Regions from separate parts of the Homo sapiens genome. Here region 1 is linked to region 2. The links are contacts of gene promoters, found by promoter capture Hi-C in human tissues and cell types (Jung and others, 2019). All regions are on one chromosome and are shown on one strand. Each heading gives the region's core, a stretch centred on a gene start or on the middle of the fragment in contact. The rest is flanking DNA. Distances are from core to core; before and after follow the strand shown. Region 1 has its middle 5.8 kb from the start of JPH4. Region 2 holds the start of EMC9 (ER membrane protein complex subunit 9).

What was found. Contacts are between HindIII fragments. The study calls those that stand out against the background at their distance.
Region 1: a fragment that was not itself captured here is called in contact with the fragment with the promoter of EMC9 in region 2 in 1 of the 25 tissues and cell types used here (hippocampus).

Annotation. Positions count from the first base shown.
Region 1 is chr14:23,582,389-23,586,835 of GRCh38, reverse strand. No RefSeq gene overlaps it. Among named protein-coding and RNA genes, the nearest start is that of JPH4, 5.8 kb to the right of the region's middle. RefSeq lists an enhancer at 1,191-1,690. The HindIII fragment of the contact is 8,014 bases long and covers 1-4,447 here.
Region 2 is chr14:24,139,530-24,144,055 of GRCh38, reverse strand. It overlaps EMC9 (ER membrane protein complex subunit 9), which reads left to right and starts at 2,465. Exons shown (of 6, transcript NM_016049.4): 1 at 2,465-2,618; 2 at 2,740-2,949; 3 at 3,091-3,167; 4 at 4,442-4,511. The coding sequence starts at 2,752. PSME2 (proteasome activator subunit 2) reads left to right here. Exons shown (of 11, transcript NM_002818.3): 9 at 27-81; 10 at 385-471; 11 at 567-691. The coding sequence ends at 647. It overlaps MIR7703 (microRNA 7703), which reads left to right and starts at 491; the gene lies at 491-567. RefSeq lists a silencer at 2,542-2,631. The HindIII fragment of the contact is 5,248 bases long and covers 1-4,051 here.

The sequences.
Region 1 (4,447 bases), core at 1,044-3,543, 560 kb after region 2:
GAAAAACATTCCATGCTCATGGATAGGAAGAATCAGTATCGTGAAAATGGCCATACTGCCCAAAGTAATTTATACATTCAATGCTATCCCCATCAAGCTACCATTGACTTTCTTCACAAAATTGGAAAAAACTACTTTAAACTTCATATGGAACCAAAAAAGAACCCACATAGACAAGACAATCTTAAGCAAAAAGAACAAAGTTGGAGGCATCATGCTACCTGACTTCAAACTATACTACAAGGCTATAGTAACCAAAACATCATGGTACTGGTACCAAAACAGATATATAGACCAATGGAACAGAACAGAGCCCTCAGAAATAACACCACACATCTACAACCATCTGATCTTTGACAAACCTGACACAAACAAGCAATGGGGAAAAGTTTCCCTATTTAATAAATGGTGTTGGAAAAACTGGCTAGCCATATGCAGAAAACTGAAACTAGACCCCTTCTTTACACCTTACACAAACATCAACTCAAGATGGATTAAAGACTTAAACATAAGATCTAAAGCCATAAAAATCCTAGAAGAAAACCTGGGCAATACCATTCAGGACGTAGGCATGGGCAAAGACTTCATGAGTAAAACACCAAAAGCAATGGCAACAAAAGCCAAAATTGACAAATGGAATCTAATTAAACTAAAGAGCACAGCAAAAGAAACTATCATCAGAGTGAAAGGCAACCTACAGAATGGGAGAAAATTTTTGCAATCTATCCATCTGACAAAGGTCTAATATCCAGAATCTACAAAGAACTTAAACAAATTTACAAGAAAAAACAACCCCAGTAAAAAGTGGGCAAAGGATATGAACAGACACTTCTCAAAAGAAGACATTTATACAGCCAACAAACATATGAAAAAATGCTCATTATCACTGGTCATTAGAGAAATGCAAATCAAAACTACAAGGAGATACTATCTCACACCAGTTAGAATGGCAAACATTAAAAAGTCAGGAAACAACAGATGCTGGAGAGGATGTGGAGAAATAGGAACACTTTTACACTGTTGGTGGGAGTGTAAATTAGTTCAAACATCGTGGAAGACAGTGTGGCGATTCCTCAAGGATCTAGAACCAGAAATACCATTTGACCTAGCAATCCCATTACTGGGTATATACCCAAAGGATTATAAATCATTCTACTATAAAGACACATGCACACATATGTTTATTGCGGCACTATTCACAATAGCAAAGACTTGGAACCAACCTGAATGTCCATGAATGATAGAATGGATAAAGAAAATGTGGTACATATACACCATGGAATACTATGCAGCCATAAAAAAAGGATGAGTTCATGTCCTTTGCAGGGACATAGATGAAGCTGGAAACCATCATTCTCAGCAAACTATCACAAGAACAGAAAACCAAATGAGAGGTGACAGCATGCTGGCAGTCCTCAGAGCCCTCGCTTGCTCTCGGCACCTCCCCTGCCTGGGCTCCCACTTTGGTGGCATTTGAGGAGCCCTTCAGCCCCCCACTGCACTGTGGGAGCCCCTTTCTGGGCTGGCCAAGGCCGGAGCCCACTCCCTCAGCTTGCAGGGAGGTGTGGAGGGAGAGGCACCAGTGGGAACCGGGGCTGCATGCGGCGCTTGTGGGCCAGCTGGAGTTCCGGGTGGGCGTGGGCTTGGCGGGCCCCGCACTCGGAGCAACCAGCCAGCCCTGCTGGCCCCGGGCAATGGGGGACTTAGCACCCGGGCCAGTGGCTGCGGAGGGTGTACTGAGTCCCCCAGCAGTGCTGGCCCACCGGCGCTGCGCTCGATTTCTTGCCAGGGCCTTAGCTGCCTTCCCATGGGGCAGGACTCGGGACCTGCAGCCCGCCATGCCTGAGCCTCCCACCCACTCCATGGTTTCCTGTGCGGCCCGAGCCTCCCCGACGAGCACCACCCCCTGCTCCACTGCGCCCAGTCCCATCGACCACCCAAGGGCTGAGGAATGCGAGCACACGGTGCAGGACTGGCAGGCAGCTCCACCTGCAGCCCCGGTGCAGGATCCACTAGGTGAAGCCAGCTGGGCTCCTGAGTCTGGTGGGGACGTGGAGAGTCTTTATATCTAGCTCAGGGATTGTAAATACACCAATCAGCACTCTGTGTTTAGCTCAAGGTTTGTGAGTGCACCAATCGACACTCTGTATCTAGCTGCTCTGGTGAGGACATGGAGAACCTTTATGTCTAGCTCAAGGATTGTAAATACACCAATCGGCACTCTGTATCTATCTCAAGGTTTGTAAACACACCAATCAGCACCCTGTGTTTAGCTGAAGGTTTGTGAGTGCACCAATCGACACTCTGTATCTAGCTGCTCTGGTGGGGCCTTGGAGAACCTGTGTGTTGAAACTCTGTATCTAACTAATCTGATGGGGACGTGGAGTCTTTATATCTAGCTCAGGGATTGTAAACGCACCAATCAGCACCCTGACAAAACAGGCCACTCAGCTCTACCAATCAGCAGGATGTGGGTGGGGCCAGATAAGAGAATAAAAGCAGGCTGCCCGAGCCAGCATTGGCAACCCGCTCGGGTCCCCTTCCACACTGTGGAAGCTTTGTTCTTTCACTCTTTGCAATAAATCTTGCTACTGCTCACGCTTTGGGTCCACGCTCCTTTTATGAGCTGTAACACTCACCGTGAAGATCTGCAGCTTCACTCCTGAACCCAGCGAGACAACGAGCCCACCAGGAGGAACGAACAACTCCAGACGCGCTACCTTAAGAGCTGTAACACTCACCGCGAAGGTCTGCAGCTTCACTCCTGAGCCAGCGAGACCACGAACCCACCAGAAGGAAGAAACTCAGAGCACATCTGAACATCAGAAGGAACAAACTTCAGACGCGCCACCTTAAGAGCTGTAACACTCACCACGAGGGTCCGCGGCTTCATTCTTGAAGTCAGTGAGACCAAGAACCCACCAACGCCGGACACACAAACACTGCATGTTCTCACTCATAAGTGGGAGTTGAACAAGGAGAACACATGGACACAGGAAGGGTAATATCACACACTGTGGCCTGTAGGGGGGTGGGGGGCTATGGGACGGACAGCATTAGGAGAAATACCTAATGTAGGTGATGGGTTGATGGGTGCAGCAAACCACCATGGCACGTGTATACCTATGTAACAAACCTGCACCTTCTGCACATGTACCCCAGAACTTAAAGTATAATAAAAAAAAATGCTTACAATGAAAACTAAGTGAATAAGTAGGATACAAAATTGTATATGCACTGTTTTTAATTATGTTAAAAGTACATAGAAGACTATATAAAAATATACTAAACTGTTATACAGTGAGACTAGGGGTGGTTTTAATTTTTATTCTTGATATGCTGTATTTTCTTATTCTACAATGAGCATGTTTTATAAACAGGACCCCCAAAATTGCATTTGTTAAAGCATATTAACTTGGGAGTCTGATATATATCAAGCTCCAAGGGCTGCCATCTATTAGCTGGGCAACATTAAGCAAATTAACTGCTGGGTCCCAGATTTCTCACCTATAAAACTGGCATAATGCCAATCTATTTTTCAAGCCATTATTTACTGGGCACTCACTATGTGCTGGACACTATGCCAAGTGGTTTTCCCTCCTATATTATACATATTATGCATACTTACACTTCATACATGATCATTTTGATCCTCAAAATAAGGCATGGAGTAGATTATCATAATCCTATTTTAGAGATAAACAAACTGCAGCTCAGAAAAGTTAGGTGATATGCTCAGGTTCACCCAACTAGTAGGTGGCAGATAGAGTCAGAATTCAGACATAAGTCTGACCATCTTTGGACACCTAGCTCCAGGCCTCCAGCCTGGACTGCTCACAGTGACAGTTTTGCTGTGAGGATGGAATGAGGTCATACAGATTGCGCGCCAAGCACAGTACCTGGCTCCTAGCACAGAGCTGCTCCTTCAAACATTACTTCCCGTTTCTCTGACACCTGAATGTTGGTAAATTGTGGCAAAACAAACCAGTGCACTCTCTGAAAAAAAAAAGTGCCCCTGCCCTGAAGGAGGGAACTGTAGAGCCTGTAGGGACAGAAAAGAAAGGGGCTGGAAGGCTGGCTCACTCAGGGAGACATGGGGGCGCTGGGACTGTGCATCCCACATTCTGGGAGTACTTCTGTCAGAGATTTCTTCGGGACTTCATTGGACCCTACACTTAATTTGCAGCTCAGAATACAGTATAGCTTCCAACAAGGCATCACACCCTGTCACCTCTTCTCCCTAAGAAACAAGGCACGGGTGTTCCAGGACCATAGGTTGGTTTTTCTTTTCTTGTTTTCCCTTTTGCTTGGAGAAAAGGGGAATTTTAGGGGTGGAGTGGGACAAGGCTCTGTGTGGAGAAGGAAAGGTTGACACCCTAGGCTGAATATCTAGAGGTGAGCAACACAGCTTGGCCTGCCCCAGAACTCCCTTCTGGATTCATCTTAA
Region 2 (4,526 bases), core at 1,216-3,715:
CTGTGGTATTCCCTTGCTTCTGGCAGGTACTTCTCAGAACGTGGGGATGCTGTGGCCAAGGCCTCCAAGGAGACTCATGTAGTGAGTGGATAGTCCACCAGCCTTTTAGCTGGGTGTGGGACGAGGAGGTGTGGAGGAAGAAGTCCTCCTTGTCTTGTTTGTGACTTTCCCAATGTGGAGAATATTAAGCTAAAAGCATTACCTAGAAAAACTGGTTTGGGCTTCAACAACCTTGACCCTTTTCTCTGCTCAGTCCTTTGGGATCCTATTTCTTGGTGCTAAGAAGGGGTTCATTCTCAAGTTAACCTATTTCCTATAAAAGGAAACCAGACTCATGTCCCAGCCTCCCATGGGACTGACTCAGCTTTGCCTCCCACATTGCAGATGGATTACCGGGCCTTGGTGCATGAGCGAGATGAGGCAGCCTATGGGGAGCTCAGGGCCATGGTGCTGGACCTGAGGGCCTTCTATGTGAGTGTGGAGTAAGGCTTTAGGGGAGGTGGATGAGTGGGGGCAGGCAGGGGATTGGCTAAGAACCTGACTCTTGCACTCTGGCCTTCTCCCAGGCTGAGCTTTATCATATCATCAGCAGCAACCTGGAGAAAATTGTCAACCCAAAGGGTGAAGAAAAGCCATCTATGTACTGAACCCGGGACTAGAAGGAAAATAAATGATCTATATGTTGTGTGGATTCCCTTCTGGCGTGTGTCATTCATTCAAAAAGCATTTATTGAGTGGCACCTATGTCCAGCCTGAAGATGAATGTGGTGGGAAGGGGTGGGTGTCACAAAGACAAAGATGACTTAGATGCCCACTGTAATCTTGACTGTGAGAAAGAGGGGATTCAGGCCCTTTCTCATCCAGTAGTCAATGTGCCATCTCCCCTTCCCTAGTCACCTCTTATCTCACTTACCTTCTTTCTTCTCCTGCTTATCTGTTTCCATCTAAGGCAAAAAGGGGGGAAAGTAGCTTTAGAAAAGTCACAGAGGTTGAAGGGCTATCTTCTCCATTGGGTTTATAGTCCAAGTCCTTCACCCTGAGTGCCTAGGGTGGGGATTGTTACATGCCATGGCAGCCATGCAGATAACCTGTATTTTGGAATGTAACAGTATTATTTTCATCCAGAGGTCTCAGGAATTATTGGAAGAGATGGCATTTGCACAGAGCCCTTATGGGAATAATCAGGCTTTGGATACACAAGGGGAAAGTTCTGTGGTCAACATCAGGAATGAAGAAAGAAAGAATCCTCATCAGTTCAGGAAAAGCCTAGAAGGAGAATAAGGTTTCACTGGGAGAACTATGGAGAACTACGGATGAATGATTGGACTCCCCCCACCCTTTTTTTTTTTTTTTTGAGATGGAGTCTTGCTCTGTTGCCCAGGCTGGAGTGCAATGGCACGATCTCAGCTTACTGCTACCTCCGTCTCCCGGGTTCAAGCAATTCTCCTGCCTCAGCCTCCCGAGTAGCTGGAATTACAGGCATGTGCCACCACACCTGGCTAATTTTTTTGTATTTTTAATAGAGACGGGGTTTCGCCATGTTGGCCAGGCTGGTCTCGAACTCCTGACCTCAGGCGATCCACCCACCTCGGCCTCCCAAAGTGCTGGGATTACAAGGCGTGAGCCACCGCGCCGGGCCTGGACTCCCTCCTTAAGGGCTAGGAGGGGAAAAAATAATGCTTCCAAGGCACTGTGGTGAAGGAAATACATCGCAGGACATTATGGGAAGGATGAATCTGTAAGTTTTTCTTACTGTCCTCCCCCATATCCCCTTCAGCCAATCACTGTCTTTATCTCTGCTTTTCAAGATTCAGCCCTGGGCTGGTGATAGAGACAAGGGTTCCTTTGCTGTGATCTTGCTGTAAACTCCATGGGATTGTTCTTTAATTCAGGGCCTTATCCTGTCATAAAATATGAGATAAGAATGTGCTGCGAAGCACTAGACTGGCTGGAAGCCTGCCCCCATACATATCTCATTAAATCCTTAAAGGAACACGGGCAAAAGATAAACCAAGGGCAAGAAAACCTGCAGTCGCGAAGGCAACACGGCCCATTAGTAAGTGACAGAGCCGATCTAGAGTACAGAGCCACTCAACCCATAATAGGCGCAAGGCGGTCTGCTTTGCCCGCAGCGCTCCGGAACACCCGGCTACGGGATAGCGATCCATCCTTGGGGCTCGGCGGAGCGAGTGGTAGTGGGCAACACAGGTAACAGGCAAAGCCAACCACCAACCGAGAGCGGAAGTCGGGGAACCTAGCCAATAAGAGTGCGGGCAATTTTCTGTGCTTCACAATGGTGGGTTCTTTCCAGTCCGCTGGAGACAAAGGCGGGGCAACGTTGGGGCGCGGCCGCTGATTGGACAAATTGAAAGCCTTTAGCCCTATCAAGGAGCACCACGTGGGCGGGACTCCAGGAGCCAGTTCTGCAGGGAGCTGCAGTTTGGTCTGTCTCCCAGGCAGGCGCAGAGTCGCGGCCGCCAGCTAGGGGCGCGGGAAGGCGGGGCTCGGATGCAATCGGGACCTCCTCCTGGACTGGGCCGGGGGCGGACTCCGGGACCCAGGGCGCCGGGAGCCGGCGGGCTACCTGCGAGTCGAGTTAGCGTTGTCGCCGAACCGAAGTGAGAGGGCACGGGGAAGGGTCAAAGAGCGTGCCGAAGCGCTGGAGGGAGCTTCACGGACGCGAGCTAGGCACCGGCTCGCCTAATCCGGTACTAATCCGGCTTGCTGCTTCCCGTCCAGGCCTCGCTCGCCATGGGGGAGGTGGAGATCTCGGCCCTGGCCTACGTGAAGATGTGCCTGCATGCTGCCCGGTACCCACACGCCGCAGTCAACGGGCTGTTTTTGGCGCCAGCGCCGCGGTCTGGAGAATGCCTGTGCCTCACCGACTGTGTGCCCCTCTTCCACAGCCACCTGGCCCTGTCCGTCATGTTGGAGGTCGCCCTCAACCAGGTGCCTCCGTTGGATGCCCATCCCCCACCGCGAACCCACCCAACACCCCAGCCCAAGTTCATCCCCGGTCCCTTGGCAGCAGTGCGCATCCACAAAGCCAGCGGCACAATTTAATTACTGATGGCCCCTTTCCTACGACAGGTGGATGTGTGGGGAGCACAGGCCGGTCTGGTGGTGGCTGGTTACTACCATGCCAATGCAGCTGTGAACGATCAGAGGTGAGTGGCGTAGCCAGAGGAAGAAGGAAAGGATTATGGCGGGTTGGGGATTGGAGGAATAGAGGGCGAGGATGCGTGGGGCGGTGGGCGGGGCGGGGGCGCACAAGATGAACCAAGGTCGTTCCTTTTATCTTTCCTTCATCAAACGCTTAGGAGCAGGGGCTTTACACCAGGCACTATGCTGGGTACTGGAGTGAGGGAATATAAAGATGAATAGGACAGAGCCCTGCCCTGGAGTGCCGTTGGGGCGGGGAGGACAACTGTGTATCAACAGACTGATTTTTTTTTTTTTTTTGAGACGGAGTCTCCCTCTGTCTCCCAGGCTGGAGTGCAGTGGCGCAATCTCGGCTCACTGGAACTTCCACCTCCTAGATTCAAGCGATTCTCCTGCCTCAGCCTCCCGAGTAGCTGGGATCACAGATGAGCGCCACCATGCCCGGCTAATTTTTTTTATTTTTTTAATTTATTATTATTTTTTATTTTTAGTAGAGATGGGGTTTCGCCATGTTGGCCAGGCTGGTCTAGAACTTGACCTCAGGTGATCCACGCGCCTCGGACTCCCAAAGTGCTGGGATTACAGGCGTGAGCCACCACTCTCGGCCAACAGACTGATCTTGCTTTAACTGAGGTGTCCCCCAGGGGCTGAAAGAACAGAGAAATCCCAACCAGCAACTTCAAAAATAAGGCAGTTTCCTTATATATATACATATAGGAAAAGACATATATATATATATATATATATTAATCATATACATGGAGCAATTAGAGGTACTGTTTTGTAATTTGCGTTTCTCCCTCACTTAATAAATACTTGACATCATCCCATTTCCACACCAAGATCTACCGTAACAGCTATATAGTCTGAATATGAATGTACTCTAATTTATTTAATACTTTAAACATTGAGGTTGTTTCCAGTGTTTTATTACAGACACTGTCCTATGATTACCATAAATTCTTTATAAGTAGAATTTCTGGGTCAGCATATGTATAGTATGTATACAGTTTCAATTTGGATGGTTATGCCAAATTACCTTCCAAAAAGACCACCTTTGGTTTCCACTCTCACCAGCAATATCTGAGCACCTGTCTCCCACAGCACTCAAGCATCAAGCAGTCGTGCATCAAGCATCCAGCAGGCCCGATCCCCGCAGGCCACCTACAGGGAAAGGCCACAGCTGCGCCCACACCTATGAGACCTGGGAGGCCCAGCTCAAATGGATGGGTTTTGCCCACAGTTGGCTCCTCACTCCTCTGATCTTCCCTCTACACAGCCCTGGGCCCCTGGCCTTGAAAATTGCTGGGCGAATTGCAGAATTCTTCCCTGATGCAGTACTTATTATGGTGAGGCTTGGGTTT